Regions from separate parts of the Homo sapiens genome. Here all the other regions are linked to region 1. The links are contacts of gene promoters, found by promoter capture Hi-C in blood cells and fetal thymus (Javierre and others, 2016). All regions are on one chromosome and are shown on one strand. The core of a region is centred on a gene start or on the middle of the fragment in contact, and the rest is flanking DNA. Distances in the headings are between cores, read along the strand shown. Region 1 holds the start of SLC25A28-DT (SLC25A28 divergent transcript). Region 2 holds the start of MMS19 (MMS19 cytosolic iron-sulfur assembly component). Region 3 holds the start of ARHGAP19 (Rho GTPase activating protein 19).

What was found. The method cuts DNA at HindIII sites, captures the fragments that hold promoters and counts their contacts. A CHiCAGO score of 5 or more calls a contact.
Region 2: a contact is called between the fragment with the promoter of MMS19 here and the fragment with the promoter of SLC25A28-DT in region 1, in 2 of 17 cell types (fetal thymus and total CD4 T cells). The highest score is 8.0, in fetal thymus.
Region 3: a contact is called between the fragment with the promoter of ARHGAP19 here and the fragment with the promoter of SLC25A28-DT in region 1, in 2 of 17 cell types (non-activated CD4 T cells and total CD4 T cells). The highest score is 6.4, in non-activated CD4 T cells.

What each region holds. Positions count from the first base shown.
Region 1 is chr10:99,619,385-99,622,388 of GRCh38, forward strand. It overlaps SLC25A28-DT (SLC25A28 divergent transcript), which reads left to right and starts at 1,461. Exons shown (of 1, transcript NR_186534.1): 1 at 1,461-2,534. SLC25A28 (solute carrier family 25 member 28) reads right to left here and starts at 1,055. Exons shown (of 4, transcript NM_031212.4): 1 at 661-1,055. The coding sequence starts at 951. RefSeq lists enhancers at 281-863, 1,447-2,029, 2,030-2,611 and silencers at 746-905, 1,636-1,795. The HindIII fragment of the contact is 4,603 bases long and covers 1,247-3,004 here.
Region 2 is chr10:97,497,133-97,500,249 of GRCh38, forward strand. It overlaps MMS19 (MMS19 cytosolic iron-sulfur assembly component), which reads right to left and starts at 1,290. Exons shown (of 31, transcript NM_022362.5): 1 at 1,141-1,290. The coding sequence starts at 1,252. It overlaps UBTD1 (ubiquitin domain containing 1), which reads left to right and starts at 1,792. Exons shown (of 3, transcript NM_024954.5): 1 at 1,792-2,141. The coding sequence starts at 2,072. RefSeq lists enhancers at 415-945, 622-671, 1,032-1,201 and silencers at 1,442-2,201, 2,212-2,411. The HindIII fragment of the contact is 10,400 bases long and covers 1-3,117 here.
Region 3 is chr10:97,291,184-97,294,353 of GRCh38, forward strand. It overlaps ARHGAP19 (Rho GTPase activating protein 19), which reads right to left and starts at 1,454. Exons shown (of 12, transcript NM_032900.6): 1 at 1,389-1,454. The coding sequence starts at 1,444. ARHGAP19-SLIT1 (ARHGAP19-SLIT1 readthrough (NMD candidate)) reads right to left here and starts at 1,490. Exons shown (of 15, transcript NR_037909.1): 1 at 1,389-1,490. RefSeq lists enhancers at 266-1,024, 1,025-1,781 and a silencer at 1,126-1,175. The HindIII fragment of the contact is 8,887 bases long and covers 1-2,886 here.

The DNA of each region.
Region 1 (3,004 bases), core at 211-2,710:
AGCTCAATTTTCATGTTCAGGAAATAGGTGGGGTATCATGCTTGCTTCACAGAGAAACTGAAACCTATTCCTGAATACGATCTTTCCCACATTACTTCCAGTCTGGAATTCTGCATTCTCACTGCACAATGATTTCCAATCACTCATGTGTTAAGATTTAACATGTAAGTCCTTTATCTAGCTGAGAGATCCCAGATTCGGGTTCCTGCCCCGTCAGTAAGGGAAGATACAGCAAGGAGTTTGTAAAAGCACTAGCCCAGAAAACATCTCAAGCCGTTAGATCCATTTCAGGGTCTGGTTCACGCCAGTTGGCTTCACCTTAATCGAGTTAGTAGCACTTACCTGAGCTTCGGGATACCCCATCCCACCCTATTCCTGTTTAGTCCCAGGTGGGGTCCAGGGCTTTGGCTGACAGATTTTCGATCCTGAGTCCCGATTCAGATTTCACTGACGGTTAGAAATAGGTCCTGGTTCCTGACTGGGATCAACTCCCAGCTGGGACCTTGCTTGAATGGAGTGTCGGTTCGAATCATGTGGTAGTGGCAGGAGCCAGGAAGGAACCCATGTCGGCTCCGGCTCTCAGCCGGGATCCTGGCTCCGGACAAGACCCAGGGGTCGGGTCAGCCCCAGGTCGGGTTCGAAGCCGGGTGCAGGTCTCACCTTGACGCAGTCGATGGGGTACATCACGCAGTGCTCCAGGATCCCTGCCACGGCGCCTGCCACCATGTGCGTGGTGACAGTGGCTCCAGCCGGCAGCGCCTCGTAGTCCGGGCCGGAGTCCGGATCTTGTCGTACCGGGGGCCTGCAGGCCCCGGCCTCCCCGCCGCCGGCCCCCCGGCCCACGCCCCGCTGCAGCCACCCGTCCAGCAGCGCCGACTCCCCGGGGCTCCGCCCGGGCCCTGCCGCCGGCCCCCCCGCCACACCGCCAGCACCCCGCCCCTCCAACTCCATCCACCCGGGCCAGCTGCGGCGCCCACCCCCGCCGCCGCTGCCACCACTGCCGCCGCCGCCCCCCGGCCCCGTAGTGTCCGCCTCAGGCGCGGCCCAGAGAGCCCGGGGCCTCCGGCTCCCGCTTGGCCCCGCGGACACGCCCCCCAAGCAACCATTGGTGGAGACGCCAAGTTAGACCCACCCCTTTCCTTACGTACGAAAAATCAGCCGGTAGTATTAGCGAAGTCGCCTGTCATTCCTCCGCCCTGAGGCGTTGCTAGCGCCTACATCCCACCTTTTCCCCTTTGATCTTAGAAGCTTCTTGTTTATTGGTCACTGATTGGCCGACATGTGCGATCAACCCGCCTCTGACTTTTAGAAGGGCGGGAGAAACTTAAGGCTGAACTTTGATAGGCTCAACCACTCTTGATACTTTGACCGCGGCCATTGGCCCGCACCACGTCGGTCCCCGATTGGCTACAGAAAGAGCGACGCGCCCAGGGACTCTAGGGGCCGACTTCGGGCCCCTCACTAGCGCCTGCAGAGCTGCGGTCCCTGTGCGCGGGATCGCGTCGGGGGCGGGGCGGCGACAGGCCTTCAACGTCAAACTGCTGACGGGCGCCGTTACGACCCGCGCTCCCGTGCGCTCCTCAAATTCTGAGACGCGTGGCTGGAGAGCGGGCGGCCCTGGCCCCGGAGAGCCGTGTTCCCGCGGGATCTCGTCGCGGGCGTGAGGCGGGGCCGGCCTGGGCCGGTCATCCCTGGCTGGCGCGACCCGCAGCCTGTCCGGGAAGCCGTTGCGACATGCGGGCTGGGAACCGCCTCACCTCCAGGGGGGACCGCGGCGGCCCGCTAGACTCTGGTCGGGTCTGGAGTATTGGGCCCTCTGGCCGGACTCGGTGCTCCTCAGGCCCCAGCGCCCGGCACTGAGCCTCGCATCCACATTCGCAGAGTAAACCCAACAAGTGTTGAATGAATGAGGTTCCCCGGGCCCCGGCTGTCACTGGGCTCTGCGCCAGGCCAAGAGCCGAAGGCGGGGGAGGAAGATGTCGAAATGGGCGGGATGATTCACAGATGACGGCCGGTGGCGAGGCGGGGCTGGAGGCCGCATCCCAAAGGCAGCAGGGAAGTGCGGCGGCTGTGGGGAAGCTCGGACGCACGGCCTGGCCGAGTCTGAAGCATCAGTATTTTGTCCCTGAGCCGGCGCGCTGATGGGTCCCCCGCCTGGCGATGAGGGCTTCTCCCTCCCTCGGGTCAGCCCGGGTCCTGAGAGGCAAGGCCAGCGATTCCCGGCCTTAGGACCTCCTGCTCTAGGGAGCACGGGCGTCTTCTTCCATTTGCCTTCCCCGAGCGTGTTGGCACAAGCTGCCCGCGGTTTCCAGCTCTGTCTTCTCTGTTTTACCCAGATGATGCAACTGTGGACTTCTCCATCTGTTCATAGGTTTTCCTTGGATAGGAAAGATGTTTTCCTTTTTTCTTTCTAAAGTTTAGCTCTTCTCTGGGCTTCCTTTTTAAAAACTTTTTCTACTCTCTTCAGCAGTTGTTATTAACCTTTAGGTCGCGACCGTTTGGAAAATAATAAAACTACGAATTCTCTTCTCCTACTTCCACCTCCCATCCCCTGTGTGCACTCAAAATTTTGCATATCATTTCTGCGTTTCAGAGTCCCTGAAGGTGCCATGTGGACACCCTAGGGGTCCATTAACCTGGTTAACCTCTCCCTGGCCGGCGCAGTGGCTCATGCCTGTGACCCCAACACTGTGAAGGCCGAGGTGGGACGATTTATTGAGCTCAGGAGTTCGAGACCAGCCTGGACAACATGGCAAAACCCCGTCTCTACAAAATAATAAATACAAAAAAGTACAAAAATTCAAAAATTAGCTGGGTATGGTGGTGTGCACCTGTAGTCTCAGCTACTTGGGGGAGGATTGCTTGCGCCAGGGAGGTCGAAGCTGCAGTGAGCCGTGTTCATGCCACTACACTCCAGCCTGGGTGACAAAGCAAGACTTTGTCTCAAAAAAATTTTTTTAAAAGGAACTTCTCCCCCACAGCATGTTCAGTCTCTCCTTTTCTC
Region 2 (3,117 bases), core at 40-2,539, 2.1 Mb before region 1:
TACGCTGCACACACCTCTTACAGAATGGTTGCCTCTCCCAGCATACTATAAGTTCCTGGTGGGCACAGATCTAACCTAATTTGTATTTATATTCCTATTGCTTTGCATCATGTTTGGGGAATAATATGTATTCAACAATAGTGGCATGATTGAATTAAAGTGGAATACTGCTAACGAACAAAGTATTATATTTCTAGCAGATTCACTATTCTTTTCTTACATATTCTAAAGGTTAATACGCTCAATATCCAAGAGAAATGTGTCCTTACTTCTCTCCAAGCATACGAAATTTCCAAAGTTTTTTTAAAAAAACTACTCATTAGATAATTTTATATTGTTACTTAAACCCAAGATCTGAAGGCCTCCTAACATTCAATAACTTTTTAGTAGTTTTTTTTTTTTCCTAGAAGAGCAAAGTCTCAGAACTCCACGGAAGCCTGGAAATCGTTTTATTCTAATTTTAGATAAGCTGTCTGAACTAAGAGATCTCTGAACTGGTCAAAAGCAGGAAAGTGGGGGTCTGGGAAGAAGACAAAAACAAACGCCACATAAAACGTCATGGAGCAAACTAATCAAGAACTTTAGCAAGAAACGGAGAGAAAGTCTTAAGGAGGACACCCAGAACATCTCCAGCTCCTCCTGGCCCGTCTCCTCAACTCCTCTTAATTCCAGCCAGTCAGAGCGCGGGGCCATCTGCCACTCCCAGGATGCCACGCGACGGGAGCGGACGCTGCGAGGATGCACCTCCACACGTCAACCTCCCACAAACAGCATGGCTTCGTGGCGTGAGCACCCGGTTCGGACCTGAACGCCTGGGTCCGAGTCCCACCTCCCCCTCCTGCCTGGTCTGCAGCCCTGCGCAAGTCCTCTTGCCCTCGCTGAGCCTCAGTTTCCTCATCTGTAAAATGTAATGATTCCCTATAATTGGCTACAGGGAGATGAGAAGTGTAAATGGTTTTAAGGAAGACACAGGCAACTCTCTAACTTGTTACGGCTCTGAACCTCGCGGTGCTCACTAACCAGCCTTGAGACCAATCTCTCAAAGTCACCCCGCTCCTCCCTTCCCGCCCGGCGCCTGTACTGAGGCCGCTCCCTCCTGTTGGCCCCCATGCGGAAGGCGCGCGGCGCCGTCTGCCGTACCTGCAGCCACCTGGTCAGCGGGGCCCTCTTGCTGACCCACGACGAAGTCGTGCACGAGGCCCCATAGGGCACCCATAGGCGCCGCCGCCTCCACAGCCGCGGCAGCGGCCATAACGCGAACTAGAGACCGTGGGAGGGGATATGGGCGGTGGCTCGAGACGGGCTCTCCGCGCATGCGCCTCCCGAGCCAATCTCCGGGGAAGCGCAAGGGGGCGGGGCGCCGGGGTCACGTGCCTGCCGGCTTCTGCCTAGGCAGTTCCAGGGAGGGGCGGGGCCTGAAATGGGGCGGTGGCACCGAGAGGGAAGGCGGCTGCTGGGCACGCAGCCGGAGGCGATTGAGGGCGAATAATTCCCAGCCCGGCTCCCCGGGAGACGGGCTGCGGGGCGGGCACCTGGCTGGGTGGGGAGAGGGGCGGTACGCACCACGGGGGAAGCCAATGAGAAAATCAGGCCCAGCCCTAGGGGGCGGTGCTGTCGGTCACATGCGCACCTGGGGCGGGTGGTGGCGGCGGCGCGGGCACCGCGAGCCGGCGGAAGGGAGAGGGGCCGGCCTGGGGCGGGGTTAGGCAGGTGAGTGACAGGCTCCAGGGGGCCGGCCCCTGCCTGGTGCCCCGAGCGAGCCGGGAGTAGCTGCGGCGGTGCCCGCCCCCTCTCTCCGCCCCTCCAGCGGAGCTGGTCTCCGGCCGGGCACCGTCGCGGGCCCCCCTGGCCCGGCCACCTGGGACCGTGCTGGGGAGTCTGCCACTTCCCTCTCTCCCCTGGCCCGCAAAGTTTTGGCGGAGCCATCGCTGGGGCTGAGCGCGCCCCCGGGGGGAGATCGGGGAGCGCCCGATGCCGGGCGGCCGGAGCCATTGACCCGGGACGCCGCCGTCCGCTGAGCAGCCGACCACCCCGCCGCCTCCGGTGCATGGGGACTGGCTGAGGAGCCAGCATGGGCAACTGCGTGGGGAGACAGCGCCGGGAGAGGCCGGCAGCCCCGGGACACCCCCGCAAGCGAGCAGGTAACGATGGGGAAGGGAGCAGGGCCTCGGGCATCCCGCCAGTTGTCCCCCTCCTCGCCCGAGTCCTGGGCTTACCGATGGACTCCCCACTGGTGCTGGCGCTTGGGTTTCCCCGATGGGCTGCTCCGCAGCCAGAGGGGGCCGCTCCCCAGCGCCGGGCGGCCGGGGGAGCTGAGTTGGGGCAACTGCGAGCACTGAGCCGGCTGCGCGACCAACTCTCTCCAACTGGGTAGCTCCTGGTGGGGGTGGGGGCAGGAAATGTTTGCAGACCGCAGCGGGGCCGACGGATCGGGAGGAGGCCGGGGGCGAGGGCGCCGCTGGCCTGGCAGCTCCGGCCGGGGTCGGACGCCGGCCCGTCGGGGCACGGCGCGGGCAGCCAGGCGTCCCCAGAACTCGGAGCGAGCGAGGCGAGAACAGTCGCTCCTTCCAAAGACTGTGTCATTATCGAGCTGCAGATCGTGTCTGCGGGAATCCGACTTGCAAAGCAGCGCAGGACTCTGGGAAAGAAATCTTTATTTTTCCCGCAGGGGTTTTTAGAGCCTCTCGGCCGTCTGGGAGTCTATAAAAGATGGGGTGCGGGGTGAGAGTCACCCTTGGGATTGTTGGGATCCTTCCCAGCTTTGGGAGTGAGATCGCTCGCTGGTGATCCTCCAGGCCCGCGCAACGCTTTCTCACTTTCATGGTACACCCCGCCTGCCCTGGCATTTCGCCCCGGGAAGAGGTCTGTCGGTCATTTTTCTGGGTCTTACACTCACTTCCTTCTTTGAGGGTGTTGCAAGGACCCGCTGGGAATAATATCGTAGACTTGAGAGCTCAAACTTGTCTGGATTCCAGATGGACCCATCTCCTACTCTGTGTCAAAGCCCAGATCCTGAGAGGTTGAACACCTTGTCCAAAGTCACACAGCTAGTTAGGAGCTCACCTGGGGCTAGAACTCAGCCTCCTCTCCCACCCCATTGCCACATATCCCCTTATG
Region 3 (3,170 bases), core at 204-2,703, 2.3 Mb before region 1:
ACGGCCACCCACTTTGGGTCCCCTCCCTTTGTGTGGGAGCTGTGTTTTCACTCTATTTCACTCTATGAAATCTTGCAACTGCAAAACAAAAACAAAACAAAACAAAAAAGAGTGGAAAACTCTTCCATATCATATTTTATTTTATTTATTTATTTGAGACATAGTCTTGCTCTGTCACCCAGGGTGGAATGCAATGGCGCATCTGGGCTCACTGCAACCTCCGCCTCAACCTCCTGAGTAGCTGGGACTACAGGCGCCCGCCACCACACCCGGCTAATTATTGTATTTTTAGTAGAGACGGGCTTTCATCATGTTCGCCAGGCTGGTCTCGAACTCCTGATCTCAGGTGATCCGCTCCCCTCGGCTTCCCAAAGTGCTGGGATTACAGGCGTAAGCCACCATGCCCGGCCCCGTATGATATTTTAAATAACACACTCAACCACGCTCATCTGGGCTCAGGAAGAAGCCGAGTCACAAAGTTATTAGTTTCCCAAGATTCTTGGAATCTCTTATTCGGTACAAATGGAACCAAAAGACGCCAAACCGAAGTATTTTACTGAGTTACACTGAGGCAACGTAAATAAACTCAATCTATTGAATTACACCAAAAACAAAATTGTAATCAATTAAGACAACTTAGGTCTCAAGGCTAAGGCAACACCACCTCGAAATTCTCTCCTGAAAACGCTAAATCTCGGTGTGGCTGTTTAGGAAAGAACATCCTGTGGAAATAAAGTCATGATGTCCTGGACTACAGATCCCTCTCCCATCTGCTCCTTAGCTGTTCTACTAGGAAGAAGAAAATCTATTGCGTAGAGTTGTCATTATCGGCTAAACTCAGTGCTAGCTTTAAATGGATTGTCTTATTCAATCTTGACACTTGGAAATAGGCATCCTCACGTCCCTTTGCAGATGAAGAAACTGAAGTCGAGAGAGGTTTAAAAACTGGCCCAAGGACTCAACACTGTTTCTAATTGACACTCAAATCCTTGCTCGGACCTGAACGCACAAAGTGCCTCGGAGAAGATGTGAAGCGCTGTGTGCAACAGTGAGGAATTCGCTAACCAGCCCTGGACTTCCGTTTCCTCGCCATCAAGAGGTGTCTCGGCGCCAAAGCGATCAGCGCTGCCACCCCCAGCTGGACGTCTGCAGCCAGCGCAGCGGGAGGAGCCCCCTCGGGCACCGGCAGGACCGAGCGGGGGGTTTGGCTGGAGTCCAGCGCCCAGGCCCGACCCCCGCGCCTCAGCCCCCGCAGGCGCGACGATGAGAAACGCCGTGGGAGAAAGAAACAAAGCCCGAACCGTGCGCCTCCGTGACCCAAGGCAAAGGCGGCAGGACTACCAGCCCAAGGCCGCGTTTCCCAGGAAACTGGACCAAACTCAGCTCACCTCCGGCCGGATTCGCGGGCTGGCACCTCCCCTTCACTCTGTGCCTCAGTCGCCATCTTCGTCAGCAAACTTCTTTCACCGCCCCACCTTACGTCCCGCCCCCACATATTTGGATTGGCTAATATGTTTTCACCTCTTCCGTGCGATTGGATGACTCGACCGCCCCTCCTCAACCTGAACCGTTTAATATATTATTGGTCTATTCAAATGACTAACCGTCATTGGTCGTTCCCAGCCCTGGCGGAAAAAGAGGGAGGGGCGGGGAAGAAGACCCAGCCCCGAGGCCTGCCGGGAGTTGTAGTTTCTCATTTTGATGAACCCTTCCGATTCCACAGACCTTTAGGTTCAAGTCAGAAATCACCAGCCTATGCTCAAATTTTGTCCTGATATGTAAATCAGGGAATTATAGAACTGTCAACTTTGAAAGTGACTCATCACTTTCTAAAATGCAAGACTCCGTACCCTATATCTCAGCATCACACAATATACCCAGATAACAAACCAACTCATGTACCCCCTAAATTTAAAATAAAAGTTGAAAATAAATAATTTTTTTTTACAATTTTTTTAATTTTTTTTTTCTGTTGAGACAGGGTTTCACCATGTTGCCCAGGCTGGTCTCGAACCCCTGAGCTCAAGCAATCCTCCTATGTCAGCCTCCCAAAGTGCTGGGATTACAGGCATGAGGCACTGCACCCAGCCATAAATTAATTCATTTAATTTAATGTAATTTAATGCAAGACTCGTTCTCTGTCTTGACCCAGAGATAAATCCCTCAAGTGCAGGCAGGGAGTGGCAACCTAGAAGTACTTGCTTTTAAACGTATAGTTCAAAGCCTTCTTTCTTCAGATACTCAGCATAGCCCTAGCCATAGGTCATTTCTTTCTTCCTTTATTTCTTTCTTTTTTTTTTTTTTTTGAGATAAGGTCTCCCTCTGTCTCCCATGCTGGAGCACAGTACAATATTGCAGCATACCAACACACAGGGCAAATTTTTGTACTTTTTGTAGAGATGGGGTTTCACCCTGTTGGCCAGGCTGGAGTCGGTCATTTCTGCTTCAATACATTCACTCCCTTCCAACTTCCCAGAGAACCCACAGAGTTTGCCTTGTGATATGAACCATGGAACCAAAAGCTGCATGACTTTGTCCCAAACTAAACTTTAATCCTCAATGGTAGGAATAACCATAATTATCCTTGTCCTCCCTGCGGCACACACTTCTCCTAGGGATTAACTGAGGCAACATATGTGAGAACATTGTAAATTTTGAGCATTGTTGTTTTTTGTTTTTCCATATTGTTTTCCTATGCTGGACTTTTCTCGGGAATTTCTGTATTGATCCTTCTGATATCCTGCCACCTGGGGCTCTCCCTGCACTCTGCCTCCTTTTTACTAAACTGTACTGCACATGCTTCACTTTCTGAACTGTCTTAGGGCTTTTGCACATGTTGCTTTTTCTGGCTCGTCCATTTTTCCACTTTTTTGGCTTTCAGGTCGAAGCTTAAATGTCACTGGCTCAAAGATCTTCCATGACCCCCATTGTATAAATCAATTCCCTCAGTAAACTTTCACAAAGAACTCTGTACTATTCTTTCACAGTTCATATCACAACTCACAATTACATAGTCATTTGTGTGACTATTTATTTCATGTGAGGGTTCCCAGCTAGGCTTCCTGCCACAAGTGGGCAGAGACTATATTTATTTTGCTCCCCACAGTTTCTGGCACATAATGGCTGTCCAATAAATATTTTTGAAAAATATAAGCAAGTCCTCAAACTAT